Linked DNA regions of Homo sapiens: region 1 is linked to region 2. Evidence: promoter capture Hi-C in 16 types of primary human blood cells and fetal thymus (Javierre and others, 2016). All regions are on one chromosome and are shown on one strand. The core of a region is centred on a gene start or on the middle of the fragment in contact, and the rest is flanking DNA. Distances in the headings are between cores, read along the strand shown. Region 1 has its middle 140 kb from the start of VANGL1. Region 2 holds the start of NGF-AS1 (NGF antisense RNA 1).

Region 1 (7,364 bases), core at 1,292-3,791, 220 kb before region 2:
GATTTTATTAATGGTCTTGACTTCATAAAGTAGAGCAGTGTGAGAGGCAGGCATCCAAGTGAGTTAGTATCTGACTGTCAGGGCATGCATAGGCAAAAATCCTTGAGTCAAGCAGCTGTGACCCATGAATAGGAGGCCCTCAAAATCCATTTGGCTAGAGTGCTAAGACCAAGCAAGAAAACACTTAACTTTAAGTGTCAGTGCTATTGCAACCTCAATGAGATTTTATCTGTGGAGTGAATGATTAGGGGAGACCAAATTTATTGTCATCCAGAGGAAGTATTTATAAACTTGGCAGAGCCACATGTGAGAGTAGAACAAAGGCTGCCAAAGAGGTTCATAAATTGAGATGAATGATCTGCAAGTATTTTCCATTGCCTACATATGGTTATATATACACTGTGTGGCTCAAGCTCAGGATTGAATTGCCTCACACAAATGCTGATGCTGTCTTCTTTGTGGATATGGGATGGGGTGGGGAGATTGAATCAATGTCAGAGTTAGAATTGGAATGGAGAAGAAAGGATGCTTTGAAGAAGAAGCTGCATAGTTGGGGAGGAATGGAAAAAAGTGGAAGACTGCAATGAGGAGAGGTTGCTGTGGGGGCAGAAGATCCTTCATGGTAAGTTGCATGAAGGGTAAGAAAAGCCACAAGGGTTAGGTTAGAGGTAAAGTTGCAAGAGGAGATATAATTGATGTGAGGAATGACACCAAGGAAAGAAGAAGAGCAAGAAAAAAGGGAAAGGATTTAGTAGAGTGAAGAATACTCTTCGCCAGTAAGGTAAATGGGCCAAACCTGGACCACAGCCTGATTTTGCTAATAAAGTTTTATTGCAACAGTGATGCTTATTTGTTTAGTAATTGTTTGTGGTTGTTTTCATGATGCAGTGGCAGAGTTGTGCTAATTATAACAGAGACCATATCTCCCAAAGCCTAAAATATTTACTATCTGGCCCTTTATGAGAAAACTTTGCTGAGCCCTGGCCTTGATTATGGGATGTACACTCCTCTCTGCCACTCAAATGTTACTGCTCTCTGCCAAAGTTTATTTGTATTAATGGCAAAGCCTGATTCTACTCTACATGACATCTATTTGTATTTATTTTGTATAGGCTTTAAAGCTTCACCCTAGGTTACTCTTGGGAAAATGAAGTTATAAGGTATGCCATTGTTTTAGTTCATTCTCATGCTGCTATGAAGAAATACCTGAGACTGGGTAACTTATAAAGGAAAGAGGTTTAATTGACTCACAATTCCATATGGCTGAGGAGGCCTCAGAAAACTTACAATCGTGGTGGAAGGCACTTCTCCACAGGGTGGCAGGGGAGAGAATGTGTATCCAGCGAAGGGGGAAGCCCTTATAAAACCATCAGATCTCATAAGAACTAACTCACTACCACAAGAATGGGATGAGGGAAACTGCCCCCATGATTCAATTATCTCCACCTGATGCCTCCCACAACACGTGGTGATTATGGAAACTACAAGATGATTTGGGTGGGGACACATCCAAACCATATCATTCTGCCTTTGGCCCCTCCTAAATCTCATGTCCTCACAGCTCAAAACATAATCATGCCCTTCTAACAGTCCCCCAAAGTCTTAACTCATTCCAGCATTAACTGAAAAGTCCAAGTTCAAAGTCTCATCTGAGACAAGGCAAGTCCCTTCAACCTATGAGGCTGTAAAATCAAAAGCAAGCTAGTTACTTCCTAGATACAATGGGGTACAGGCATTTGGTAAATACATCCATTCCAAAGAGAAATTGGCCAAAACAAAGGGGCTACAGGCCCCATGCAAGTCTGAAATCCAATAGTGCAGTCATTAAACCTTAAAGTTCCAAAAGGATCTCTTCTGATTCCATGTCTCACATCCAGGGCACACTGTTGCAAGATATGGGCTCCCACAACCTTAGGCAGCTGTGCCACTGTGGCTTTTCAGGGTACAGTCCCCTGCCTGGCTGCTTTCACAGGCTGGCATTGAATGTCTGCAGCTTTTCTAGGCACATGATGCAAGCTGTCAGTGGATCTACCATTCTGGGGTCTGGAGGATGGTGGCCCTCTTCTCACAGCTCCACTAGGCAGTGCCCCAGTGGAGACTTTGTGTGGGGGCTCCAACCCCACGTTTCCCTTCCACACTGTCCTAGCAGAGGTTCTCCATGAGGGCTCCACCCATGCAGCAAACTTCTGTGTGGACATCTAGGCCTCTCCATACATCCTCTGAAATCTAGGCAGAGGTTCCCAAACCTCAATTCTTGATTTCTGTGCACCTGCAGGCCCAACACCACATGGAAGTTGCCAAGGCTTGGGGCTTGCACCCTCTGAAGCAATGGCTTCAGCTGTACATTGGCCCCTTTTAGCCATGGCTAGAGTGGCTAGGATGCAAGGCACCAAGTCCCAATGCTGCACGCAGCAGAGGGTCCTGGACTCGGCCCAGGAAACCATTTTTCCTTCCTAGGCCTTGGGGCCTGTAATAGGGGAAGCTGTCATGAAAGTCTCTGAAATGCCCTGGAGATGTTTTCCCCATTATCTTAGTGATTAACATCTGGTTCCTCATCACTTATGCAAATTTCTGCAGCCAGCTTGTATTCCCCCCAGTAAATGGGTTTTTCTCTTCTGCCACATTGTCAGGCTGCAAATTTTCCAAATTTTTATGCTTTGCTTCCTCTCGAATGCGTTTCTGCTTAGAAATTTCTTTCACCAGATGCCCTAAATCATCTATCTCAAGTTCAATGTCCCGCAGATCTATGGGGAAGGGGCAAAATGCCACCAGTCTCTTTGCATAGCAAGAGTGACCTTTACTCCAGTTCCCAACAAGTTCCTCATCTCCATCTGAGACCGCCTCAGCCTGGACTTCATTGTCCATATCACTATCAACATTTTGGTCAAAGGTATTCAACAAGTCTCTAGGAAGTTCCAAACTTTCCCACATCTTTCTGTCTTCTTCTGAGCCCTCCAAACTGTTCCATCTTCTGCCTGTTACCCAGTTCTAAAGTTGCTTCCATATTTTCAGGTATCTTTGCAGCAGTACCCCACTACCCAGTAGCAATTTACTGTATTAGTCTGTTCTCACGCTGCTATGAAGAAATACCTGAGACTGGGTAATTTATAAAGGAAGGAGGTTTAATTGGCTTACAGTTCTGCATGGCTGAGGAGGCCTCAGGAAACTTACAATCACAGTAGAAGGCACCTCTTCACAGGGTAGCAGGGGAGAGAATGAGTGTCTGGTGAAGGGGGAAGCCCCTTATAAAACCATCAGATCTTGTGAGAACTAACTGACTATCATAAAAACAGCGTGGGGGAAACTGCCCCCATGATTCAATTATCTTCAGCTGATCCTTCCTACGACACATGGGGATTATGGGAACTACAATTCAAGATGAGATTTGGGTGAGGACATGGTAAAACCGTATCAGCCATAAATAACAGGAGTTGCACATGCAGAGGGAGAATGCCTTGTGGAGACTGGCGATGCTTGTAGAAGGCAAGGATTACTGAAGGTTAACAGCAAACCACCAAAAGCTAGGGGAAAGGCATGGAACAGGTTCTTTCCCTCAGAGCCCTCAGAAGGAACCAACCCTAACACCACCTTGGTCTCATACTTCTGGTCTTCAGACTTGGAGGCAATACATCTTTTGTTTAAGCCACTCAGTTTCTGATACTTTGTTACAGCAGCCCCAGGAAACTAACAAACACAGACTCACAGTCCCAGGTAGACTTTCTTTGCTGGCACTGACCATCTCCCAATGGACCACCTTCTTTCCCATGTGGACACTAACATCCTTGACGTGTTCTTCAGCCCAGACATCATGAGCTCACAGAAGTCTACACAGCTTTGCCTTCTTCCTCTCAGAAAACCTCAACTTGACTGGTGAGCCTTCTAGTGACTGGCCTTCAGCTCTAGGATTGCCTGTTTCCAACAGTTCTTCCTTCCACCAAACCCCAGAACAGTCACAAGCTTCCTTTTCTATGCCATCATGCAGAACAAACAAACCACAAATGCTTTATCATCTTTCTACAAACTAATCTTTAGTTATCAGCCTACTCTGCAAATGCCCTATTGTATAGAGGCATGGTTGCCAACATGAGGGTCCTGGGTCCCCAGTGGGCCAGGAATTATAGCCACTGACTTACAAAACTATTTGTGCATCAAACTTCGTTTGGCTTAGTGCGTTTTAAAAAAGTGCTGTATTTCTACTACCATCAGATCATGACAACATTTTTATCCTCAAATATTAAAAATTCAAGTAATAGTTTACATATTGGTTTATGAAGTTGTTTGACATTTAAAAAGGAGGTCCTTATATGTAAGTGAAGCCTGTGTTTTAAATAAATTTTCCCCTTTAAAATTATTGATCCTCCCATATTTGTGTGATGAATATTCTAAACATGTATAGGGTTACTCTACTGGGTCCTAGGACAAGAAAGGAACAGACACACACTGTGTTCTCAGTAGCTCTCAGCCTAGTGGGAAAGGCAGAGAAGAAAAGCAAGGATGAACTACAGAGAAGCCAGGACCATAGTAGAAGCATGTGGGTGGGAGAACAGAGGTGGATGCTCAGCACAAAATGGTGATGTGAATACAAAGAGTTGGAACAAGCTCTTAGAGTCGTGTGTGTTTGAGTTGTGAATGAGAGCTAGTCTGATAGTAGAACAAGGGCTTTCCAGAAAGAAGAGTTCATATTTTGTGAACACCTGCTATATTCCGGAATCATGCCAAATATACATTTATGCCTTCACTGTGACCTTCTAAGACAGGTACTTTACATTCTGAGACAAGTTATTTACAATTTTTTATTGTGCTAAAATATGCATAGCATAACATTTACAATTTTAATCACTTTTAAGTGTATGGTTCAGTGACATTAAGTGCATTGCCACTGCTGTACAAATAGTTCTACCATCTACCTCCAGAACTTTTTCATCTCCCCAACTGAAACAATGTTCCCATTAAACAATAACTCTACATTCGTCCCTTCCCCCAGCCCTGACAACAACTTTTCTACTTTTGGTATTTACGAATTTTACTACTCTAGGTGCCTTATTTACCTGGAATCATGTAATAGTTGCCCTTTTGTGACTGGCTTATTAACTTTGCATAATATCTTCAAGGTTCATCTATGTTCTAGCATATGTTATAATTTTTTTTCTTTTTTTAAGGCAAATAGTATTCCATTGCATGTATGTCCCACATTTCATTTATCCACTAATCCAGGGGTCCCCAACTTCCTGGGCCACAGACCAGTACTAGTCCATGGCCTGTTAGGAACCAGGCTGCACAGCAGGGTGTGAGTGGTGAAGCTTCATGTGTATTTATAGCCACTTCCCATTGCTCACATTACTGCCTGAGCTCCTCCTACTATCAGATCAGCAGTGGTATTAGATTCTCATAGAAGTGCGAACGTTATTGTGAACTGCACATGCGAGGGATCTAGGTTGCATGCTCCTTATGAGAATCTAATGCCTGCTGATCTGTCACTGTCTCCCATCACTCCCAGATGGGACCATCTAGTGGCAAGAAAAGCTCAGAACTCCCACTGATTCTAGATCATGGTGAGTTGTATAATTATTTCAATATATATTACAATGTAATAATAATAGAAATAAAGTGTGCAATAAACGTAATGTGCTGGAATCATTCTGAAACCACCCACCCCCACCTGCCCCTGGCCCATGAAAAAATTGTCTTCCATGAGACCTGTCCCTGGTGCCTAAAAGGTTGGGGACCACTGCACTAATCCATCCATTGATGATCATTTGGTTGCTTCTACCTTTTGGCTATCATGAATAATGCTTCTCTAAACATGAATGTACAAATACCCTTTCAAGTCTCTACTTTCAGTTCTTTTTTGGTTTATATCCAGAAGTGAAATTATTGGATCATATAATAATTCTGAGATTACTTAGGAAAATCTGAGCACAGCTTTTTAATTCTTTGAGGAACCATCATATTGTTTTTTACAGTAGCTTGCAGTGTACATTCATACCAGCAACACACAAAAGTTTCCATTTCTCCACATCCTCGCAAACATTTGTTATTTTCTTTTCTTTCTTTTTTTTTAAATAATAGCCATCCTAATGTGTGTGAAGAGGTATCTCATTGTGGTGAGATAGGTACTGTTATCTGCACTTTTTCAGATGAGGAAACAAAAGTTTGGAAACTTGCCAAATGTTCTATGGCCAATTAAAGGCAGAATCAGGATTTAAACCAGAGCCCATCCTATCCTGCGCTGTGTTCTGAAGCACTACTGAGGCTGCCCATTAAAGAACTTGGGGAAAGTAGAGGGATGGATAGGTGGGGGTGTGAATGAAGATGGGGCTGTAAGAGTATGCAGGGGCCAAATCATAAAGACCTTTGTGTTTTTTTCCTAGAGAAAGTTTCAGTTCTTATAAATAGCTTGCAAGCATAAAATGTATATAGTAATTATATTAACCCAAGGATAAAGAAAAGGAAACATGAGATGAGTCCCTAAAAACTCCATTTCTCAGAAATGTAATCAGAATAGCTGTAGGTTAAGGCCTAATGTAAGAAATAACTTATTTTTCCATCAAAGCACAACTGAAAATAACCAAGAATAATATGATGTTGGCTTCACATTTTTCCATTTGTATTGAGCAAGGATATTTTGGGGCATCTTATGGAAAATATAACTTCAAGGGTTAAGAGAGCATTCATCAGGCATCTCAGCAAATTGTGAGCCAACATATGAGGAATCTGTGCATGTGCAAGGCTAAGTCCCCAGCACACAGTCCTGGCTGAGTGACCCAGAGGAAGGAAAGGCCATACTGTACAGTCTTGGGGTTCAGACTGTCCAGGCATGTTCAGAGAGTGAGCACTGAGGGGTGAGGGAGGAAAAAGGGATCTCTGCTTTTGAGGGGCTGAGGCAGAATCTTAGAGGATGGAACACATGGAAAGAAGATGCTGAGGTCCTGGAGCCCAAGGACAAGGAGGCTTCAGCAGAGTGAGGCTGCTCCTGAGAACAGCAAGGCTGTGTGCTCTCACACCGACCTCCAGCTGGCCACCCACTCCTGTCTCTGCCCACTCCCCCAGGGAATTTACCAGAGCCTGGAGGAGTGACCATGAGGAGGTCGTGCTTTATGGCCTAGTAATGGAGGGTAACCAGGTTGGGCAGGGGTCTGTTCACAAGTATAGCCCAGCAGTGGTGGTCAGAGACATGCCAGCAATGACACGGGAGACCAAGGATGGTCAAGCTAAGCAGTACAGAGGCCTGCGGTGCCCCAGGTGCTGACACACTGGTCCAGAAGGGGCAGTGGACATCACTGCCTATGAAAACCTGGGTTGAAAGTGGTACATTTTCCCCACCAGGGACACAGCTGCTTTGCGTTTAGGACCCTTACAGAGCT
Region 2 (6,635 bases), core at 1,233-3,732:
CGATAGACAGGAAGAGGCTTGTACCAAAGATCTGTGAGCTGCTCATTTGTAGAGGGAGATGTGCTGTCTGGAAGAGTTGTAACAGAGTAATCTCACGAGGCCTGTCAAAGTAGATCTGGTTTCATGTTCAGCTGGCCTTAGTACTCGTTTTATCCCTCAGCAGCCTCCTGCAGAAAGACTTCATTACCCCAAGAAAACATTAGTGCCTCCGACACTCTTGCAACCCACTAACAGCCACAGTAGCAACTTCCAGGGGCCCCACCATCAGCCCACAGCCAGGGAAGCCAGAGACGGGAGAGAACTTCTGAAAATATTTTTATTCTTAATTGGATGATTTCCATAAGTGACCAAAGGTGACTGGGGCCGTGGGACCTGCAGAGAAGAGGGTGGGGCAGAAAGACTAAGTAAATGGAGTAAGAACCAAATAAACCTGGAGATGTGGAGGACAGGTGGGCCGGCAGGAAACCACGGCTTTCTGCTTCTCCCAAACAGGGGAAATGAAACAAGGATGACAAAGAGAAGGCCAGAGGTGGATGTGAAGAAGGGGAGGGGAGGACAGAGCAGGAGGAGGAGGGAGGTGTGATCTCTCATCTTTACCAGCACTCTCCAGCCTCCAGGAAAGTTAGCAACCTGGGTGGTTCTTGTGGGGCTTTTTGGATGTGCTAATAAACACTGACTCCATCCAGAGCATCTTAGGAGTGAAGGTGACAGAGGGACTCCAGGGTTCAGCCTGCAGCAGGGCTCCACCCAGCCTCACACGACCCCCTTCCCCTGCAACTTTCATTTTGTATTTTCCTTGAAGCCACAATATTCCCCCAGACAGAGCACTTATATTAAGACAGAAAATTTCCCCTCCTATCCATCCTGTCTCCCCCCGAGGATGAAATGCCTACACTGGTTTTCAAGAGAACAGGCCCAAATTGTCCATCCGAGAAAAGAGCAAATGGTCTTATTCATTCCCTCTGTAATTCTCGCTGTCCGGCCCCACCTCCAACGCCATCCAAATAGGGCAAATTAGAAACGTAGGGAGCTTTGGCATGAGAGCCATTTGATTAGGGTAGAAGTATGATGAAATGTGCCCTGTTTTTTCTATCAGAGCCACTGCAATTGGAATAAAGGTTTATGCTCAAGAAACACCAGCTAGAACATTCTGTGCTGAGATTCTAAGTGAGATAAAGGCCTCAGGGAGGAGCCCTCCCAGTGATCTGTGTCTGTGACTTTTACTGGGGTCCAATGCCAGTGGTCTCAGCCGTCCTAGGTGCCCCTACAAAGTTTCTGGGTGGCTTTTTTTCTCTTAGGACTGGACTTTGGGCCTGGGATGTGGGGAGAGGAGTGGAGAGGGAGGCCTTCAGGAAGCTCCCCATCAGGAAGGTTGGCTTGTGAGCAGCTACACCAACAAAGAGGGTCCTGGAGTGCTGCCCGCGGCACTGCAAGACACTGGGACATCTAAAAAATGTCTTTGGCTCCCCTGGGCAGCCGAGAGGGAGGACCGTCTGAGGGAGCACGAAGGCTGAGGCCCTCACTTCCATGTGGGCTGCTCTCCTGCGTGTCCGGTAAGAGGAGGGCCCCTCATCCCAGGAACACCACCACCTTCCCAAAGGCAAAATCTGCTCTAGGCGGAAACACTGGAGTCCCAGCGTGGGAGCCAATGTTTTCACACAATATAAGGGATATCAGTTTGGCTGATCGGCGTCGGAGCCTTCCAAAAACAACCCCGCGCCCGGTGGTTTCCGCAGCTTGGGCTCTGCTCCCACACACGGAGGGGAGCCCTGGCTTTCAGACCCACCCGGGCTGCCCCAGAAAGGCTGACCGGGGTCGCCAGGGCCCCAGCCACTTGAACACCAAGAAAACAGCTTCAAACCGCCCACTATACTCTGCTGAGGAGCGGCAGCAGCACATTTTGCAAAATTTTCCTTCCTGTGCCTCACTGAGATTTTTCTGCCTGGGTTCCCCAAAAGCCCAAAAGGTGAGAGCAGATCTGACTCCTCTCGGCAACTTCGTTTGGTGGAAGGCGTCCTCCACCACGCCCAAGAAAACTAGCGCCGGCCCTGGCTGTCCGCCCTCCTAGCAAGGCTCAGGCCCCGGCCTGGGAGACCGCAGGGTGCCTGACTCTGGGGTACACTCAGTTGTCCCTCTGACGCCCTCCAGCAACCAGAGCGCCAGCCTGACCCCTTCCCTGCTAATAGAAAGCCCACCATGGGGACAGAGTTTCAGCAACAACCCAGCAGCTATTTTCATTTCCGTGAATCAGGAGTGTTCCTCCTAAAAGCCTTACCACTTTCTCCTCAGCATCATCCACATCATGGGAGGAGGATCCGCCCAGAGCTGGAATAGAGGACAAAAGGGCACCCGGGTCTCGTGTCCGCCCTGTCCGCTCCTTGGAGGAGAGACAGCTGGGCAAGAGAAGCGGAGCCGAGTGGAAGTGTGGGCTATGGAGAACCCAGGGGCCTGGGAGTCTTTCTCGCACAGGCCTGAACGGAACAGTGGGAGGCAACGGGTGCTCAGAGTTGAGGTCATCAGCCAAACCCAGCTCCGAGGGAGCAGCCCAGTGTCATGGTACAAACTCTGGGCTTGGTGTCAGCAGAGCTGGGTTCTGGCCCCAGCTCCCCCATTTCTATCTGTGAAACTTTGGCAAGCAGCAGTTCCTCTTTGAGCTTGGTTCTTGCAGCTGTGAAATGAAAATAATCATTCCTATATCCCAGAGTTGTGAGCATGAAGCAAAACCAAGTATTTGAAAGCAAACAGTCCAGTCCTATGCAAGTGTTAGGAAAAGTAATTTATTCCAAACTTAACCATTCCTGTGTTGATTATAGGAGAGAAGCAACTATGTTGGTGCTCACTAAATGTTTGTTTATTGGCACATGTATGGATTGGATAAGGGAAACCCTCTGGTCAGTGGACATCATGGAATATAGATGTGGCATAGCCAGGCCATGATAGATAGATAGATAGACAGATAGATAGATGATTGATAGATAGATAGATAGATAGATAGATAGATAGATAGATAGATAGATAGATCAGGCATAGCCTGCTTTTACCAGGAGGTTAAAAGCAAGAATGGCAGCTATTCAGCTTCAGATGCCTGAATCCGGGTTCAGATAGGCCACCTGGATTCTAGTGATTCCAGCATAATGGTAGGCTTTGGAGTCAAACAAGTACTTCTGCTAAGGCTGTGTAACCTTAAGCAAGTTGCTTAACATCTCTGACAATGATATATGGAAACTCTGACGATTTCTTCATCTGTGAAATATGGATGATAATAGTGCTTTTCTCAGAGGGCTGAGAGATCATTTAATGAGATAATACACATAAATATACAAAACTACCTAGCACTTAAGAAGTGTATAATAAATTTTCGTTTTGAAAGGTAGATTAGCTGAGAACCCCTAAAAGGATGTTGGAATAGTGGAACAACTTTCCACAAGGCAAGGAAGATTATGGACAGTTTTATAGATGTATCCTAGGTTTATTCCATGACAAGCAATGCTAATAGTGACCTTAGCGTTTATTAAGAGCTTGGTATGTTCAAGGCATCGCACTAAGCACTTTATGTGGTTTAGCTCAGGTAAGCCTCTGGGTTCTAAGACAAAAGACTATCTTAAGGCAAGTGTCGGGGAAGGCTGTGCTTTCTGCTTATGTGTATCAATGCCAGAGAAGTGCTCCACAGTTCCCTGGGATGTGTTTACTCCCCCAGCTCTTGGTAAGTTTATAAACCATTGGCTCTGAAAGTTTCCATGTGTCAAGCACGTGGGATCTGTTTTGCTCTAATTCACTTGGGTTTGCAACTGAAAAGCTGTTACCTTCCCAAAGTTCACCTGGGTGTGTGAAGATGGCTCAGGGGGTCCAGCGCCAAGAGTAAGTTGGGCAAATCTTCCCTCCACCACAGCAGCCTGCAGAGAATCCCTCCAACCCAGGGATGCTCCTTAAAGTCAAGGATGCAGCACATCTGTGTTTCTTCAGCACCTGGACCCAATCTTGCATGTGGCAGGCAATCAATGTCCTAAGGAAGGGAAGACAGAACTTAGTTTCCATCTTTTTCTCCATCCCCACCATCCACAGCCTATCTCCTCCTATCCCCGCACCTACCTTGTGTTAGCCATAAATGCGTTAATGGTCTCAGTTGAAAACAGGGTCCTCCCTGAGGCATGTGACACATCTGGGTAATTTTCAGAGGCTGGTATCAAGAGCAAGATCAGACCATCAGGGATAAAGCCTGGCCTCACCCATAGCTTGGCTGAGTGACACTGGACAAATTACTTCTCTCTCTGCACTGCAGTTTTCTTACATGTAAAATGTAGGTGAAAATAAGAGAACCTACTTCATTGTATTGTAAGGCATTTGGTCCAATGTTTGGTACATAATAAATCATTGTATATGAAACATATGTAAATATACAGTACACACAGCTACATATACATATATGCACAGAAATAGACACAATATACAAACATACACACACAAGGATAGTGTGTGTGCTTATGTGTGTGTGTATATGTGTGAATAACCCCTGGAAGCTAAGAAGCAGCCAAGAAGTGCACATTCTACACTCACATGCACCCACCCACTGACTTAAAAGCACAGTGCAACATACAAATCCATCCAATAAACATTCTAAACAATGGCTACAGTAGTAAGAAGTAATCCAATGGAAAGAGTAAGCCAGGAAAGACTTCCTGGAGGAAACGATTTTGAACTACGTGCGGAAAATAAGTTGAGTGAAATTATTGTCCTGTGCTGAGACTTACTCCAGAATTATGAACAAGGTAAAATCCAACCAAGAGGCTGCCCAGCCCCAATGGGAGAGAGACCGCTAATAGAATTGAGAGTCTCTGTCTGTTCTCTCACTTCATTCTGAGCTACAACTGGCAGAGGAGTTAGTTTCTCCTGCAATTACAGACCTTAGAAGAATTCAGAGAATAACCCTGTGAAATCCTGTAGGAAGACACAGTTAAAGTCCCCATATGGTTTTCACAAAATCTTGTCTCTGTTAAGACCAAACACCAAAGAGCTGGTCAAATATCTTCCTGAAGATGGGGCCTCCTCCAGCCATATCAGCTGGGTTTCCTCGATCCCCAAAACAAGAAGAAAAAAAAGGCTCTCAGAGTACGTACCATGCACCCCTGGCTCCAGGGGGAGACTTGGGTTGGAGAGGCCAGCCCGGCGCCTTGGCTAACGTTTGGTGCCACAGCTAAGTGCAGCCTCCAGCTTAGCGGCCTCTCCCCTTTATCTCGCCCCCACCATTCCTTTCACTTTGACATAATGAAAGTGCAACTTGCACACTGTCTCGAGATTGCATATGATAATTGGAAACATGTGTCTGAGCTGGCATCCCTTCAAAGGGCTTTGGAACTCTGACTTGGGCTGTCTTCTGATTGCAATAGCAATCCCCCAAACTGGCTCTCCAGTCTTCACATTCCTTCAGCTGCACCTTAGTGTTAACTCTTGCCAGGAGAAGGCTGTTGCAAGCAGAGCTCATTCCTGAGGGTCTGCAGAGGCTGGCAATAACGGTTTCCCGAGTGCACAGCAAGGCTCTGGGCTTGGCATCTGGGCACTGACTTTTCAGACAATAACAGCAAGAAACAGCAGGTCCATTTTCCTTTTTGCAGAAATGGCACATTGACGAGTTGACACCCAGGCAGAGGCCTGGGTCTTTTGGGGCATTGCTTGGACTCTCAAGGGTTGTGATGCTGGACCCTATCTAATCCAGCAGGGTGCTTTTTTCCTGAAGAAAATATCAAAATGTCATTATGTCACCAGGAGACTCCTGAGGAAAGTACAGAATCAATGGTGACTCCACTACAATCACCCCAACCTGTGTGATTGACAGGTTAGGCCAAGGGGACCTTATTCAGTTCAGCAGACACTGACAGCACATCTGTGATGGGTAAGGTGCCATGCTAGGCCCAGAGTAGACACAGGAGTAAGATGGGGCCCCTGTCCTCCAGGCTCTTACATCCCAGATGGAGACTGAATAGAGGATTGGGTGTTACTTTCAACTTTCAGTCTGGATATACCCATAGACCACATACCCACAGCACATAGAGGCAGCCCCAACACCCTCTGGTGTAGGCAGCAATCACCCGGCCCACCCCCACACACACCTTGGCCTCCACCTGCTTATCGATGACCTGCTCCCACTCCTGTCTCAAACCTACCAAATTCCAAACTCTCAGCTGGCCCTGCACCCCTAACCGTAATCCTGCCCTGGGATCTCTATGGAAGTGTTTCTCAAACTTTCAGGTTCACGTGAATCAGGTCTGATTCAGTAGGTGATGGATGGGGGACTAAGATCCTGCATGTCTAACAAACCCCTAGATGACGTACATAGTGCTGCTCCAGGGACTGCGCTTTGAACAGCGAGGTCCTACACCACACGTGGCTCCCCAATAGTCTCGACCTGTTCTTGCTTAGGAACTCTGACAAGGCTCATTTCTTTGGTTCTCAGGCCAACTGGCCTTGGACAGAGCGCTCCTGGCTTGAGCTCCACTAGTGGGATTCCACCCTCTGCCTTTGGTAAGGAGAAGTCAGAAAGAGGCCCGTCTGACTAACATCATACTGGGGAAAATGTGGTGCGGATGACAACCAAGTCTCAAGAAGGTAGGAACCTATCCCAGAAGGAAGCTGGAGGTGGA

Evidence for each region. The method cuts DNA at HindIII sites, captures the fragments that hold promoters and counts their contacts. A CHiCAGO score of 5 or more calls a contact.
Region 1: a contact is called between a fragment that was not itself captured here and the fragment with the promoter of NGF-AS1 in region 2, in 2 of 17 cell types (M1 macrophages and M0 macrophages). The highest score is 5.4, in M1 macrophages.

What each region holds. Positions count from the first base shown.
Region 1 is chr1:115,498,239-115,505,602 of GRCh38, reverse strand. No RefSeq gene overlaps it. Among named protein-coding and RNA genes, the nearest start is that of VANGL1, 140 kb to the left of the region's middle. The HindIII fragment of the contact is 2,836 bases long and covers 1,124-3,959 here.
Region 2 is chr1:115,278,881-115,285,515 of GRCh38, reverse strand. It overlaps NGF-AS1 (NGF antisense RNA 1), which reads right to left and starts at 2,482. Exons shown (of 2, transcript NR_157569.1): 1 at 2,276-2,482. The HindIII fragment of the contact is 8,535 bases long and covers 1-6,635 here.